3 separate regions of the Homo sapiens genome follow, and regions 1 and 3 are each linked to region 2. The links are contacts of gene promoters, found by promoter capture Hi-C in human tissues and cell types (Jung and others, 2019). All regions are on one chromosome and are shown on one strand. The core of a region is centred on a gene start or on the middle of the fragment in contact, and the rest is flanking DNA. Distances in the headings are between cores, read along the strand shown. Region 1 has its middle 83 kb from the start of OBI1. Region 2 holds the start of POU4F1 (POU class 4 homeobox 1). Region 3 overlaps OBI1-AS1 (OBI1 antisense RNA 1).

Region 1 (3,595 bases), core at 902-3,401, 140 kb after region 2:
AACAATTATTAAATGCCATTAGCTTTTTACATGAATAAACTTCTCTCATCTTCTCAAAAAAAGGACTCTACGAGAGAGAGTATTATCCTTAATTTATAGATGCAAAAACTGAGATACAGGACTAAGAAGCTTGTCGAAGTTTGCACAGCCAGTAATGGCAGAAGTGTGGATGCAAGTAAAGGCTCTTTGCCTTCCCAGCCCTCTCTAAACCACCACTCTATACAGAAGCTTATAAATCTACATAGAATCACTCCATGCTTGTAGGAGTGGCCAAATTCTTAAATGACAGGATGAAGATTTTGAAAAGGTTCTGTTAGTTCTGTTAGAAACTAATGATGTAACTTAATAGGTATAAATGTACATTTCTACATTTAAGTTAAAAAAAATCAGCTGCACACATATCAGGATGCTAGTAAGACCTGACTTAAACACCAATCCTACGAAAGTCTTAGGGGTTTCCTCTGACTTTGCACTCCTATGAACATGTAATGAAAAGTGGCTGACAAAAGCTTGTGTAATCTTAGGCATAAGCCAGGACAAGGTAGATAAAGGTCCCACTGCATTTTAGATATGTTAGATCTAGACCGGAGTTAACTGGACAATAAAATGAATCTGTTTTGTTTTTTAATAAAAGAGAACAACAAGTTGAGTTCAGAAGTGGAGGTCTTTCATGTGGTAGAGATTTGTGAATTTTGGTGGCTCAGTATCTACTGTCTCAATTCTCTGTGTCTCTCTCTCTCTTTTCTTCTTCTTTCTCTTGATAACAGCACCATATTTTCTTATGTGTAGGACATGAGACAAGTGTCCCACACCAGATTTTACTGCACACACTCTTTCTCTCTTCTACTGTTGCTTTCCAATCAGTGTCTCCTGGGCCTGGTTTGCTATTCATATAGATTTACTGGGTGGAAAATCCGGAGTGCTCATAAGCTGCTTCACTTGTCAGCCACTAAGAGCCCTCTCAGCCAACAAAAATGCAGGTGGCTGTGTTCTGACCAGGTCTGTTGTTCTTCAACATGAAATCAAAACCCACCCTCACTGCATCTTGGTCGTCCTGATGGAACTTGTAGTGCCCTTGTGCCTCATCTTCCATTCCTGCCCCTTAGCCAAGGTGCAAGTCCATGGTCCAAACTGGCCATACTTTATCTTTTTGGGGATTTTATTTTATTTTTGAACAGAGTGATACATGACAAAAAGTGGTTGGAGCAGAATGATTCTGATATTGGCATCTGCAGGAGACTGTGCACTCCTCACCAAGATTTCTGTACACCTCTACCTTGGTTCCTGTGCCTTTTGAGGCTGAAAGCCCAATCTGAACCCAGGTACTTTTGCATAGATCACTCTTTATGAGCTATCAGCCCATTTATCCAAATGACATTAACACTCATCATGAAGTCTCACAAATATTGGCTTCTACTTTTGCTTCTTCTCATCCTCATCATCCTCTTTCTCTTCCTCTTTCTTCTTTAGAGAAGTGCTAGGTTCCAGACTTGTGTATAGAGGTGAATATAAATATGGAAAGCAATTTCTTCCTAGTAAATTTAATAACATGAAATTGTGTTTCTGAACTGTTTCAGATACAAGAGGTCATGTGTCTGGCCCCAGGTGGGTGATGGATTGATCAAGAAAAGACTAACTCGTGTACTAATTGAGGAAAGAAAGAAACAATTTCCAGGGCTGACATAGAATTCTGCATAAAAAAAATCCCACCCTAATTGAAAAGAAATAACCAAGAAAAAGAGGTAAAATTACAAAAAGAGAAAGGGTAAGAGAGCAATGATGACAATGAGGATGACTAAAAGTGTGTTTTTAGTTTGTCAACCACTGTCACAGATTTCCTTTCTTGCTCCTTGTGAACTCTTTAAGGTCCCTGTTTTCTAGGCTAGCATCCACAGGGCTGGACAATTCGACTTGCTCAAAGCCCTAGAGCCATGAGATTTACATGGCTAAATCACCCACTCACACCTTCCTATCCTCCACCATATTTTCCTGCCAAGCCCTTTCCTTTTCCCACCTTTCAACCTTTCTGACTGTGACTCTCTGTTAAAATAAAACTATTTTAGAAATCTCCCAGCTTCCTCTTTCTTTCCTTCTTTGAACAAGCACTGTGCCTCTCATTTTGTTTAGAACCAATTATAAAACTCATCTTTCACTCATGAGACTTGTGTCCTACACCAGATTATACTGCACACACTCTTTCTCTCTTCTAGTTTTGCTTTCCAATCAGTGTCTCCTGGGCCTGGTTTGCTACCCTTGTAGAATTAGTGGGCGGAAAATCTGGAGTGCTCATAAGCTGCACCACTCGTCAGTCACTAAGAGCCCTCTCAGCCAACCAAAATGCAGGCGGCTGTGTTCTGACCGGGTCTGTGGTTCTCCAACACAAAATCCAAACACCGTGATACTGTGCCCCTGTGACTGAGCTTTTAGGGGCTGAAAGAAAGGAAATGTTTATTAGTAGTAGCTAGAGATGTTTCTGAAGGCAAAAGGCCTAAGCAAAGAGATGGTGTTCTGAGTGGAGTTTGTATTAAGTCCCTGATTCCTGCTGTGAACAGTGAAATGTGGTTGTTTTATAAATTAGCCACATTTGAATTCTAAATCACTACAGGTGCAGCAGAGCCTTTGATATAAGACTAAGCTTATTTTTCAACCAATGAAATAATTGCTCAACATTGGTGTGTTGGTTGATGGGGGAAGGGAAAGTCAGCTTTTTGAAAAACTATACCTGCAACCCAGATAATATTCTAAATACCTGACAGTACAAAATAATGGTATTGATAAGATGAATAAATCTGATCCTGGCTATTTTATGTCAAATTGGTAGAAGACAAATTTTCATGCAAGTATGCAGAAAAGTAATAAACCTGCTTAAGGAACAAATTTAATGGTTTCTAAGACTATATATTTCTAATAATTGTTTATATTTTTAATGTAATACTACTATTCCTAGCAAGAAGCTCGTTTCAAGTTGTGGAGAGATTGGAATAAAACTGAAGAATCAGAATTTTCTAGAAGGCAGTTTCAAGGCAATTCAATATGACTAGATGCATTTCCTATCATGTTTAATTCTTCTTTGTCTCAAAGATTTTTTTTTTGTAATTAACCATGGACAGTCTTCAGTAGCTAGCTCTCCCCTGTCCTCCCTCATGAATGTGGGAGGTGAGAAGGGAGGGGTAGGTTTTAGAGGATTTTTTTTCCCTTTAAATTATTTTTTGGCTTCTTACTAAAGGCATGTCCACAATTCACATTCATACATTTTAGGTCTAATTGAAGATGTTAAAAACATCAAGCCTTAACCTGATGGTATTTTCAAAAATCCCATGACTGTTTAGGAGCAGTCAGCAGAGAGTTGTTAAGAGAAGCTAAATGAGGCATCAGGCAATCAAGATAATCATTTCTGGGTTTTCTTTGGTTCATGAGAAATTAATTTGGATTCACCTAGTTGTACTATCACATCTTCCAATTCAAATCACCTCTCCCGGCCCTACAACTAAAAGTAAAAAAGTAAGCTTTACAAATCAAGCTGGAAGTCTATTGGCAAGCCTTTGTGGAAAACTCCTGCTGCCATTGAATAGGTTCTGCCTCTTCTGGGGATATT
Region 2 (3,312 bases), core at 45-2,544:
GCCGGCCGCCGCGCCCGCGCCGCCCGCGCCGGCCATGAGCGCGAGCGACGGCGAGGAGATGTGGTCCAGCAGATCGCCGGGTTCGAGCGCCTGGTGGTGGTGGTGGTGGTGGTGGTGGTGCGCCAGAGGCACCGTGGAAGTGGACGTGCACGGCACGCTGTTCATCGTGTGGTACGTGGCGTCCGGCTTGAAAGGATGGCTCTTGCCCTGGGACACGGCGATGTCCACGGCCGCCAGCGCCTCGGCCCGCGCCAGCAGCGTCTCGTCCAGGCTGGCGAAGAGGTTGCTCTGCAGCTGCAGGCGACACAAACCAAACCAAAAAAACCACAAAACCAAAAGAGCAAAACAAAACAACAGAAGAAACACACACACAGGCCGGAAAGCACAGCATGCGAAGGGCAAACACAAAGCAACCAAAATAACAACGGGTTTGGGGGCAGTGGAGAGCGGGAAAGACGGAGAGGGGGCACATTGACGACCAGGGAGGGGGCAGACGAGAAGGGATGGGAGCGTGGAGAGGGGGACAGAAGTAGGGAGAAAGGGGGACACAAGAACACATTCCGGAAACGGGCGTGGGAGACGAAAAAGAGGGAAAAGAAGAAATGGAAATGTAACTCGCAGCTGGGGACCCGTGTCACACACCCGAGCACGCACAGAGACTGCCTTTCTGAGGCGTGAAATTAACAGAGAAAGTAGAGGGAAGTCGAGAGTCCTGGCCCCAGCGCTCCCTACTCCGATCGCAGGCGCCTGACGCGGAGGCAGAGGCAGACAGGAACACGACATTAAGGGCCGCCGGACAAAACGTGCCTCGCTGCGGGACTGCTCTACACCCCCTGCCCGCAGTTCCCCGCACCGGGACCTGCACACACCAGCCCCCGACATGCAGCGTTTCGGAGACGGGGAGGGGCGGGCGCGCGGGCCGGGGCCGCGGGCGTGGGGCGCTTACCGGCGGCGTGGGCAGGCAGGCCCGCCGGATGGCCTCGGAGCTGGAGTGCAGCGACGGGTACTTGTGCTCAGGGAGGGTGGGATGCATGGCAAAGTGAGGCTGCTTGCTGTTCATGGACATCATCGTGGCGGCTTGGCATGTATATCCACAAACACTCCGAAAGTCCGCGGGAAAGTGCGTACGCCGGCTCACCCGGCCTCCCTTCGGAGGCTGCAGCCGCGGCGGTCGCGGCGGCTGGCGGCGGCCCCGCCGCGGGCTGCTGCTGCTGCTCCTGCTGCTGCCAGGCGCTCCCTCTGACCGCGCAGAGCGCCGCGCGCCGGCCTCGCGGTCCCGCTTCTCCGACAGCTCTAGCCCCGCGCGCCGACGGGATGCACTCCTCTAACACCTGAGCCCCACTTCTCGCGGCCGTCCCGGGGAGCTCTCGCGAGAGCTCGCGGCCCCACCGCGCTGACAGGCATCAGCTGTCTCCGTCTGTCTGACGCGCGCTCTCCTTCTCGGCGGCCCCGTGCGTCTGCGCGCGCGCGCGCTCGTCCGGCCGCGACCAGCGCGTGGGAGCCGCTCTTATAGTGACCACCAGCAAGGACAGCGCAGGTGATGCACCTGTAGCTACCCGGGCATGCGCACTGCCCGCCTCACCTTTCCCACCGTGGTCTGGAAAGATCAGAAGGTCCAGCTATTGTCTAAGGGTGGGCACCTTTTAGAATAAAAAAGACGAGATGCGCGCACGCCCCTCTATGTGTGTGTGTGTGTGTGTGTGTGCGTGCGTGTGTGTGTATGTGTGTATGTTTCTTCTCCCTGATAGCAAGCCTTGAATATATGAGCATTACTTAGGCATTCCTCCTCTTCGGGATGCCTAACAAGCTGTTGTATAATGTATACAGCTGGACATTTCTACGTTAAATTATGCCCGCGCATTCCTCTGTATACAGTATAAATAACAACACAGAAATGCAGAAGGTGCTGTCTTTTGCTGCAAGAACCTGTTTCTTTAAAGGTTTATAAATAGGTTCCTGGAGAATAATCGCGGTGACAGACATTTGTTTGAAGCAGTCAGACGCTATTGATTTCCATATAATTTAATTTCCTCCGCATACTTTTTTGTTGTTGTTGTGAATATAACTGTGTCAGGCACCGCCAGTGACAGCCACTTAGGAGCCACAAGGAGCGTGTGCTTTCTACTCGGGAAAAGCTGTTGAAATGAAATTGTGCATTTCTCTTATTGTTTGTCTCCTTCAACCGTGTACAAACCCACGTTTCAAACGAGCTCCGGGTGATCTAAGGCTTCTAGTAATCAAAAGGAAAAAACAGTTAACAGGGTGTAGTTGGGATCCTTCCTCCCCTCAGCGTACACACACACACACACACACACACACACACACACACACTTTATGCTGGGAACTCCAGGAAAACTGCTTCAGAGAAAAGGGAATAAGATGTTGAAAAGAGAACTTTCTTTTCCCTTCCATCTTTTTGGCTTTTTGCCTCATATCTCTGCCTGCTTATATATATTTTTTTCAATAGGAGACAGATCAAACTAACTTACAGGAAAGCTTGATTCAAAAATATTAAATCAAGCCAATTTGAAAGAACGGGGACAAGCTCTGGTCCAGTTTTTAAATTTTTAAAAAATTATTGTGAAATTAAGACCTAAAAAGAATAAATCAATTAGCCAACCTGTTATATGGCCCTTATGTGGTAGCAGATCAAGAGCCTCCCAGGGGAGCCACAGTTCAGGTGCCAAAGTCCCCAGGGAAGGAGCACTTGCTCGCGGTGATAATAACCTAACAGCCCAGATGTTATCACATCTGCGGTAAGAGAGCTGGAGAGCAGCAAGGGGCTGCTTATGGAAAGCAGAAATCAGATAATCTTTCTGTTCTCTCCCACACCAAGGAAGTCTGTATTTCCACCAAAGAGCAGATCTCATTTCTATAAACCTAAATTTGCGTTCCCGTGGATTTTATCTTTCCTCTGCACAAATGCATGTGTGTTTAGCATACCCACTCACCTACTCAGATTCCAAGAAGAGCCCACAGGCGTCACCATGGCTTTTTCTTTCTTTCTTTTCATGTTCCCCCCCACCCCCTCCCTTCCTTCTAGCTCCAGAGGGAAGTGAGAAGGATGTTCACTTGCTGGTGAGAGAAGGAGCTGGTTCCATCCATTACGCAGTCCCCTGGGAGCGCTAAATGCAACTTTATCTCAACGGGGAGTGGACGATGAGCAGGACGTCGCTAGAGGGAAAGAGTGAGTCCTACGGTAGTCATCACACCGGGAGTCCGGGCTTAACCTAGTCCTTCCTGACACCCCTGGTGGCCGTTCCCTGCGCTCTCTCTTGACGGGAAAGAAAAGGCCCCCACAGAGGGTGAGGG
Region 3 (3,313 bases), core at 800-3,299, 130 kb before region 2:
CATATATATACATGACTTGCACAATTCTTGAGCCTATGTGCTCTAGAGTTGTAGTAACTCGTATTACCATTCCAATCCTAACTGGCTTCCATAATTCCACCCAATCCATTTCTCACTTGACTATCATATAAATAATGTACAGAGGACTGCAGAAGCCTCATGTCTACCTACGGATACATGGGAATCACTTGGAATACAGGAGCTATTGCTGAGAATTGTTTTCTCACTGCAGCTTATTTCTTTATCTTATGCTTCTGTTTTCCACTCCTAACTATTTATTCCTCTTAGAATTCTTTTTTCGTCCATTAAATATGTATATTATATACCAGAAAGTTATTACTGTGCTTTTCTGTTGCACTTCTCTAGCCATGGATCTGTCTTTTCATCATTAGCATTAGGCACTCTCAGGTTCAAAATATTTGGTGAAAAGAATTTATTGGCTTTTTCTCATCATGACTTATGAGGTGAAATTAAAAGTTCATGTTTATTTCACATATAAGTAACTTTTCCCATGATCCAGTACATGTAGGATTACAGGATGAGAGGCCAGACATAAGTTACTTTTGTTTTGCAATTTTTTTTTCTTTCGAGACAGAGTTTTGCTTTTGTTGTCCAGGCTGGAGTGCAACGGCTCTATCTCGGCTCACCGCAACCTCTGCCACCTGGGTTCAAGTGATTCTCCTGCCTCAGCCTCCCGAGTAGCTGGGATTACAGACATGTGCCACCATGCCCAGCTAATTTTTTTTGTATTTTTAGTAGACAGGGTTTCTCCACGTTGGTCAGGCTGGTCTCGAACTCCCTACCTCAGGTGATCCACCCACCTCGGCCTCCCAAACTGCTGGGATTACAGGCTCCTGGCTCATTTTGCATCTTATCACACATGGCTGAACACCACATACATGCAACAGCCACTTTGTAAGTGGGCACTAGCTAGGAGAGAAAAGAAAGGGGATGAGAAAGGAAAAGAAGAGTGAAAATGGAATGGGAGCAGCCGCCCCTGCATCCGCATATACTGGCAACCTGCCTGTTGGCCAAGCTCAAATTATGTGTTTTCCAAGGGCACTCTGTGCAATGAATCCCCTAGTCTGTCAATTTATTAATGAGATCTTTTAAAAAATAAACTTTTGTATATACTTTTTTTAAGCTACAACATTTTAAAATAGAGACTGTTGACCTAAAAATAATTAACCTGTGGAATTTCTCCCTGGAAAATTATCAAATGCCACTGGATTTTGGAAATGAGTAGCTCAACATCTTATCCCAAATGGACTCTGAAATATGAGATGATACTTTCTGACTGTTTAGATTTGAACATTTTGTCTCAAGTAATTTGTTGACAGTTCTCGTTACTAGTGCTACATAATAAATTATAGTCATTCCTCTATATCCGTGGGTGACTGGTTCCAGGAACCCCTGCAGATACCAAAAATCTGCAGACATTCAAGTCTGCTATATAAAATGGTGCGGTTTTTGCCTATAACCTACACACACCCTCCTGTATACTTGGCATTATCTCTATCTCTATAGCTAATACAATGTAAATGTTGTATAAATAGTTGTTATACTGTAATTTTGTAATTTTTTTTTTGAATGTTTGATCTGCAGTTTATTGAAACCAGGGATGTGGCCCATAGATACAGAGGGAGGGGCAACTGTAACCCAAAACTTAGCAGCAAGCATACACATTATATTGAGCTATTAGGTTCTGTGAGTCAGTAATTCAGGCATGGCTTCCTGGGAATGGCTTGTCTCTGCTCTGTAATGTCAGGGTTCCCAGCTAGAAGACTCAAAGGCTGGGGGTGAATCAATAACTGGGGGCTGAAGTCATCTGGAGGCATCTTCGCCACATGCCTGGTGGTGGATGCTGGCTGCCACCTGGCACCTCAGCCTGTTGGCAGGAGCACCTACAAGTGGCCTCTACCTGTCCCTGGGCTTCCTCATTGCATGGAAGCTTAGGATGATTAGACTTCTACATGGCGGGTCAGGGTTTCGGGAGTTGAGTGTCCTGGCCAACAAAGCAACGCCGCAATGTCTCTTCTAACTCAGCCTCAGAAATCACACGCGTTACTTCCACTGCATTCTCCCATCGATAAGCAACTCACAAGTGGCCCAGGTTCACAGAGGAGAGAATTTGACATTCTTTCCTGAAAGGACTGTGGCAAGGTTCTAGAATAGCATGTAGGATACGAAGTTGCATTGCAGCCCTCTTTGGAAAATTCAATCTGCCACCTCAATTCAAGAAAATCACTGATGAGAAATAATGGGGAAAACATCATTTGACTCACTCATTACTCAGTATATACCAATTCCAGTTGATTGATTCAGTTTTTCACTTGTTAATCAGTTGTTTTGTATTTGGAAGGTCCAATAAAATCTCCCTTTCCCCCTTGTATTCTTTTTCATTTAAAAAAATAGTGTTGAGAAAAGATAAACAATGTATAAGAAAGCAGAAATTCCTAAATGATACTTCAGAATAGCTTAACTAAGAAAATTATTTTGTGAAAATGCAAATTGAAAAATACATTTTAGGATTTTGTGCTTGTGTCATGAAAGGCAAGATTCAGACTTCAGACTCTGTGAGCTGGGAGGTTTTAAAAGATTCTAGAACAATTAGAGAGACTGGAAGTCACTTCTTAAGCCATGGCTAGAAGATTTCTGGCAAGAAGAAATTAATACATTCCTCAAAATATGGATATGTGTGTGAGCATAGCTATAAGACATATGCACTAGAATACTGCACTGGTAAAATGGTAAATAGATTTCCTAAAGTATTAAAATATTATGTGTCCTCTGAGAGGAAGCTTGGCTCTGTGTAATTACTAATCTTTGCTAATTTTTGTAATCCTTTGCATTTCAGATATTATTTGGCAATATAACCCTGAATGTTTAAGCTCTCACGTTTGTTTTTCATAACTATATAACCTTTCCAGTGACACTTTAAGAGGAAATGGAAAGTTGCACCGTACATCTCAAACCCATAACATATTAGTAAATACTTCAGAGCCAAAAGTTAGCTTATACCATATCCTAGTAAAATGTCGCCTTTTAAACCATTCTGCAAGTCCAAGTCCTTTAAAAAAATCTATTATCTTCACAAAGGGATATTTAGCTAGTGGAATTATAACTCCTTGGCTTGGCTCATGAATTGTGCTTGCTAAATGAAGCTTCCTCAGAAATCCATGTGGCCTTTACAGGGCTTTTAACTCCAAAAAGGCAAACCCTGGCTGGGCCCACTAATAGCGAGCACATATTATTTTCACGCACTTCCATTTGCGTGTGCAAATACCCATATTTGCTCATGGAAATTGCCCAG

What was found. The method cuts DNA at HindIII sites, captures the fragments that hold promoters and counts their contacts. A contact is called where the count stands out against the background at its distance.
Region 1: a fragment that was not itself captured here is called in contact with the fragment with the promoter of POU4F1 in region 2 in 1 of the 25 tissues and cell types used here (lymphoblastoid cells).
Region 3: a contact is called between a fragment that was not itself captured here and the fragment with the promoter of POU4F1 in region 2, in 2 of the 25 tissues and cell types used here (lymphoblastoid cells and pancreas).

What each region holds. Positions count from the first base shown.
Region 1 is chr13:78,740,547-78,744,141 of GRCh38, forward strand. No RefSeq gene overlaps it. Among named protein-coding and RNA genes, the nearest start is that of OBI1, 83 kb to the left of the region's middle. The HindIII fragment of the contact is 3,947 bases long and covers 179-3,595 here.
Region 2 is chr13:78,602,258-78,605,569 of GRCh38, forward strand. POU4F1 (POU class 4 homeobox 1) reads right to left here and starts at 1,295. Exons shown (of 2, transcript NM_006237.4): 1 at 947-1,295; 2 at 1-294. The coding sequence starts at 1,069. OBI1-AS1 (OBI1 antisense RNA 1) reads left to right here. Exons shown (of 6, transcript NR_047001.1): 4 at 3,044-3,187. RefSeq lists a silencer at 1,086-1,245. The HindIII fragment of the contact is 11,230 bases long and covers 1-3,312 here.
Region 3 is chr13:78,473,354-78,476,666 of GRCh38, forward strand. The region is part of intron 3 of OBI1-AS1 (OBI1 antisense RNA 1); the gene reads left to right. Among named protein-coding and RNA genes, the nearest start is that of POU4F1, 130 kb to the right of the region's middle. The HindIII fragment of the contact is 3,683 bases long and covers 209-3,313 here.